Regions from separate parts of the Homo sapiens genome. Here region 1 is linked to region 2. The links are contacts of gene promoters, found by promoter capture Hi-C in blood cells and fetal thymus (Javierre and others, 2016). All regions are on one chromosome and are shown on one strand. Each heading gives the region's core, a stretch centred on a gene start or on the middle of the fragment in contact. The rest is flanking DNA. Distances are from core to core; before and after follow the strand shown.

What was found. The method cuts DNA at HindIII sites, captures the fragments that hold promoters and counts their contacts. A CHiCAGO score of 5 or more calls a contact.
Region 1: a fragment that was not itself captured here is called in contact with the fragment with the promoter of RGS5-AS1 in region 2 in 5 of 17 cell types (M2 macrophages, monocytes, endothelial precursors and 2 more); the score reaches 16.9 in M2 macrophages.

Annotation. Positions count from the first base shown.
Region 1 is chr1:162,889,424-162,892,123 of GRCh38, reverse strand. No RefSeq gene overlaps it. Among named protein-coding and RNA genes, the nearest start is that of CCDC190, 30 kb to the right of the region's middle. The HindIII fragment of the contact is 2,416 bases long and covers 184-2,599 here.
Region 2 is chr1:163,160,400-163,163,225 of GRCh38, reverse strand. RGS5-AS1 (RGS5 antisense RNA 1) reads right to left here and starts at 1,551. Exons shown (of 4, transcript NR_110699.1): 1 at 1,385-1,551; 2 at 350-440. It overlaps RGS5 (regulator of G protein signaling 5), which reads left to right. Exons shown (of 5, transcript NM_003617.4): 3 at 1,250-1,311. The HindIII fragment of the contact is 14,512 bases long and covers 1-2,593 here.

The DNA of each region.
Region 1 (2,700 bases), core at 142-2,641, 270 kb after region 2:
GAGGCAGGAGTATCACTTGAACCCAGGAGGCAGAGGTTGCAGTGAGCTGAGATCGCACCATTGCACTCCAGCCTTCCAGCCTGGGTGACAAGAGTGAAGCTCCATCTCAAAAAAAAAAAAAAAAAAAAAAAAAAAGCAGCCTAAAAAATCAAGCTGCAAGCATAGATAAGCAAGCTAAAAGCTTGTAGCTATGCCAATAGAAAATGGATACCTGGAAGCCAGGTATGTTTAACATAGAGATTTTCTCTACCCTTTTCTTTGTAGCCACATGTACAGGTGTCGTGGTGCCAGCCAGGTAAAGACTTCATTTGCATAGTAAAAGATTAGGGTGGGATAGCCATCCCCTTCTCTGGCTATGTAAACAGCACACCTGGTCCAACCAATCCACTATGCCCTGTGTAAATCAAACACCACCTCCTCAAGCTCCTCTATAAAACCAACCGCATCTTGCCCCAAACCCTGAAACCCACTTGGGTCCCCTTCACCTGCACAAGGAAGCTCTCTCTTCTTTCTTTAGCCTATTAAACTTTCCGCTCTTAAGCCTACTCCTGGTGTATCTGTCTTCCACCTTCTTAGTACAAGACAATGAACCTCAAATATTTCCCCAGAAAAATGATGCCGCTTCAGGAAAACTAGAAGGAATGACGGTGACAAGGAGAAGACATGCCATAGAGTTTTTTACTCTCTGTTTCAATAAACACCCCCTATTATTTAACGTTGAATATGTATGTAACAGAGGATTCTGTACCTGCCGCTGTCCTGTTCCTTTTGTGTCCTTTTATCCCCTTTTCCTCCAGCTGTCTAAGGTTAGAGTATTACCTTTGTGTGGAAATTTGTTGGTGGCCATGTGGCTTCACTGCTTGACATAAAAAGCCATGTTTGCTTTTTTTTTAATCTTACTAAGCAAAAATAAACATCTCACCCTTTTGGATAAAAAGACTCTGTGACTCTTTCAATCACTCAGGCATTGTGCTAGTGTGAACTCATCATGGGCCCAAGTTTCATGGAGCTGCAGTCGGGTGTTGCATTCCATTCCCACTCTTTCCAAAAGTGTTCAACCTCTCTGTGCCTCAGTTACTTCTGTAAAATAGAAATAAAGGCCGGTGCGGTGGCTCATGCCTGCAATCCCAGCACTCTGGGAGGCCAAGTTGGGTGGATCACAAGGTCAAGAGATCGAGACCATCCTGTCCAACATGGTGAAACCCCCTTGCTACTAAAAATGCAAAAGTTAGTTGGGCGTGGTGGCAAAGGCCTGTAATTCCAGCTACTCAGGAGGCTGAGAGGCTGAGGCAGGAGAATCGCTTGAACCCAGGAGGCAGAGGTTGCAGTGAGCCAAGATGGCGCCACTGCATTCCAGCCTGGTGACAGAGCGAGACTCCATCTCAAAAAAAAAAAAGAAAAAAAAACCAAAGAAATAAAAATATTACCTACTATAGAATATGGTAACAATTATAAGATATAATTCAGCTAAAGTGCTTATAACAGTATCTATCACATAGTAAATATGTACTAATTAAGGAAAATCCCCAATTGCCTTCCTCAGATTGCAATATTTTGGCAATTATAAGACAGTAATCTGAATGGTGCCAACAGCCCCCAGGTCTCTCAGTTGACCTGCAGCATATGCTAATACCAGGCAAATCACCTACAAAACCACCTAAGCATCCTCCAGGTACTGACCCGACAAACTCAAACTATCACCGTCTTCATGAGACATAGCCATAAGCTGAGCCTCTGCCAGCTCTCAAGCCACAGCCACTCTAAATCCTTCTGATAGTCCATTCCTCTGGGCTCCCTTCCTCTCTTGATAGCACCCTGGACCTCCCCTCTCCTTATGCCTATTCTCTTCCCTTCCCGGCTGACAGCTCTTATCATAGTTGTGTAAGTGCAGGCTGCTGAGGGAAGGAGAGAAGTTGGCTTCTCTCCCAAGGCAAACAATTAGCGAAGCATTAACTTCTCTTAATGGGCAAAGCAACATTAAGCAGATGGAAGCCCAGACCCAGGTCACTTTGCAGAGAGCCAAAGCTGTGATGGGTCTGCCAGTGTTCATATATGACCTCTAAATTGAAACTTAATTGGCCATTAATGGAATTCATCTAATTAAAAACACTTGTAATTAAGCATGAAGAAGAAAAAGAGCCTGAATTTTGGACTTGGAGAAAGCAAAACTACATTTGATATGGTCAATAAACCCATACTTGAGAGCATATTAAATTACCTCCTGTCCTCCATCATATATTGCTCACACCACATCAGAAAGCCCTCTTGGTGCCCTCCCCTCCCTGGTTTCACCATTGACAGTGGGGGCAGTAACTCCAGGGTGTCCCCTGAGAAGTAAGAAAGTAGGAATAAGGAAAACCTTTGGAAGTATAATGGAATTGATGCTATATTGGAACAGGGAAACTTTCCCCATTCGGGAACCCCAAGACATAAGGGGTCTTCCCAGATAAGAATGCAGGTTTATAAACTCATTTTTTCCTATATTTCAACATATAGCATAGTGACCTTTAAAGCAAAGGCAAAATTAAGAAAATAGATGATCAGAGATGTCAAGTCACTTGCCCAGTGCCACAGGGCAGTAAACGGCAGAGCCAAAGCTTTACAGTAATCCTGCCTTACCACTCTCATAGTGAACAGGAAAAATAAAATGAGATGAGGTATGTGAAAATACCTTGTAAACTATCAAGCATATAACCAGTA
Region 2 (2,826 bases), core at 302-2,801:
ATGAGGAATAGAGAAGTAAAGGGATTATTCACAATACTTTAGCCCAAAACCTACTGCCGTCTTGGACTCCTTACATAAATAAAGTGAGGCTGATTCTGCGCCTGGGACAGCAAAATGAAAAGTAGAACAAGCAGCTGTCATATCAACCAAAGCTGCAAATCTGAATAATTAACCACCCCCCCCCCCGAAATATCATTGTATAAAAACTAGAAGCAGGAATTTTTTTTGATTGCCTGGACAGTTGATAAACAAATTAAGAGCTAAGGAAATTCCAGTTTAGGAAAAACTGGCCTTAATATTCTAGTAAATGCTTTGTCAGTCTGTTTTGATTTGGCAACGAAGAACTCACATCATAATGCAAGAGTTCGAGCTGGGTGAGCCGAAGAGTGTGCAGTCAGCCATTTTTCCCGGACAATATCAGCTCCACTTGACACATCCTGCTGTGAGAGAAAAATTGGTGGTTGAGATGAAATAGCTTCAGGGTTTCTGCATATATAAATGTTAAAATAGAAACAGCCTAAGGAGAAATTATATGTTGGCTATAACCTTCTCCTTTTGAGTCAGCATCTCAAGCATTTGTGTATAACATTCCTGTTCAGGATATATTAACCACTCTTTTTTTTTTTAAATTAGAAAGAGTAAATCTTTAAAAAAAAGTCTGATCCTGTTATAAGTGGGTAGGAAAAATGCGCCTACGTTTTTAACATGTAAATTTGCTATGATCACAATCCCAACATAAGGAAAGCATTATACACTCACATCTTCCACTATCCTTAATTAGACAGCTTTGGGATGTGGATGTGGAACCCCAATGCCCTCTGCTGATTCAGTTAGGTGGTTAACATGCAGTATTGGTGAGGCAGAGAACAGGAGTTCAATCTCTGTAATGGGACAACTGGATTTCATGAAGTTATATTTGGAAAAAAGACCACAGTTGGAACAACTTTCATGGGATACATAAGACTATCAAGACACAGCTTAATGTCAAACGAACTCTACTTTTAAAAAGGGAAAGACCTAACCAAAATGTTCAAAAAAGATGAAGATATGCAATAAAGATGTATGAAAGCAAACCCAGCTCATCAAACCCAATTGTTAGAGAGAAAATAACTTAAACTTCCTTGTCCTGAGGATAGACCAGCAGTCATATCATTTCCATCTAAGAGAAACAGGAAGTAGTTATTGCTGGTACATGTGGTTCAATGCCTACTTACGCCATACCCCTTTTCTCTCCTTATTATTGATGTAGAACCTCGCTGGACGAGGCCCTGCAGTGGCGTGATTCCCTGGACAAACTCCTGCAGAACAACTGTAAGTTTCCATTGTTTGTTTTTTTAAATAAAGGTCAGGTTAGAGACAGAAACAAAAAACATCTTTGTATTACCTGTGTTCTTCTTCCCCAATGTTGACATTTCTTCAATTTTTGAAGGTGATATCAATAAGGGAAGGGGGCTGCAGGTATGTGATTATCCAGTTCACAAGAAAAGGAGGGTCTGTGGCACTATGAGGGAATGTGAACATAAGGTGTTCTGAAGACTCATGATTGCAGTTGTGTTCCCATCTGTCCTGCTTACTTGCATGAGCCAGAACAAGTGGCTTGACCTCCTCAACATTCTCATCAGTAAAATAGAGAAATTACATTTCCTGACTTAGCCTCATAATAAATTGATAAAGATCAGATATAGCAGCATAAAGATCGCTAACAAGTCATGAGTAGTACATCCTGGTTCAAACTATTATACTGTCAACTGCTCTTGTGACCTGACATGGGTTGTTATCTCCCCCAGCCTCCGTTTCCTCTTCTGGCACCATGCCTTTTACATCTTAATTCAAGAAATGACAAAGGTGCTGATCAGTGCAGACTCTTTTCCAAGCTAATACCAGTGCATCAATAAGCACTAGGTGCATTTCCCCAATCCAAAATCCTTACTGATTCCCATGGCTTACAGTACCAAGTTCAAATTTCTGATGTTCAAGATCACCATAACTATATGGCCGGTCTGCAGGCAAATTGAACAGTTCTCTGTTCCATATAGGATTTCTACATATAATCCCCTTGGCTGGAATATCTTTTACTCATATCTCTCTCTCTTGAAATTCTCCCTCTCCTATAATAGATAATTCAAATAAGAAATGCCTAGTGTTCCTTGACCATCCAGAACAATTTATCCACCCTCTGAAATTCCAAAGTCATTTGTCTGCACATCTTTTATTCTACTTAATACTTGCTGCCTTATGTTCTGTTCATAGTTGGCTCACTTCTATGATAGGTTATAAACTCACAAACGGGCAAGAATTAGTCTTTTTCATGTAGATAATTTCAAAACAGGAAGTATATAGTATCGGGAAAACAAATATTTGTTGAATAATTCACTCTAAAAGTATGAGTCAATTTAAAATACCCTACCTATATTTCTCCATCTTTATAACAAGAATGGAATATGAAACTTTGTCACATGCTTTGCAAAGATAAGGATTTACAAAATATTTCTCACAAGACCATTATGATTAATGGGCACAGAGTAGATGACAAAGAATATATGTTGAATTGTATATGAACATTCCTTATGTCTTGCTTTTGGTGTCATAAGCTTCTGCTTACCTGCAATAGAATTAATCTTTTATTTTTGGAGACAGAACCCCACAGTCTCTAATTTGGAACTTTCTCTAGCTTATTCATTTCTGATTCTCTCTCTTTTTTTCTTGTGCTAAACAAAGTACCCTGCCCTGACACATGTAAGATGTTTGGTGAATAGTTATGTAGTGAATGAGTGAATGAACTAAATTCATTTTGCTTCTTGGACCTAGAAATTCCACAAGGTCAAC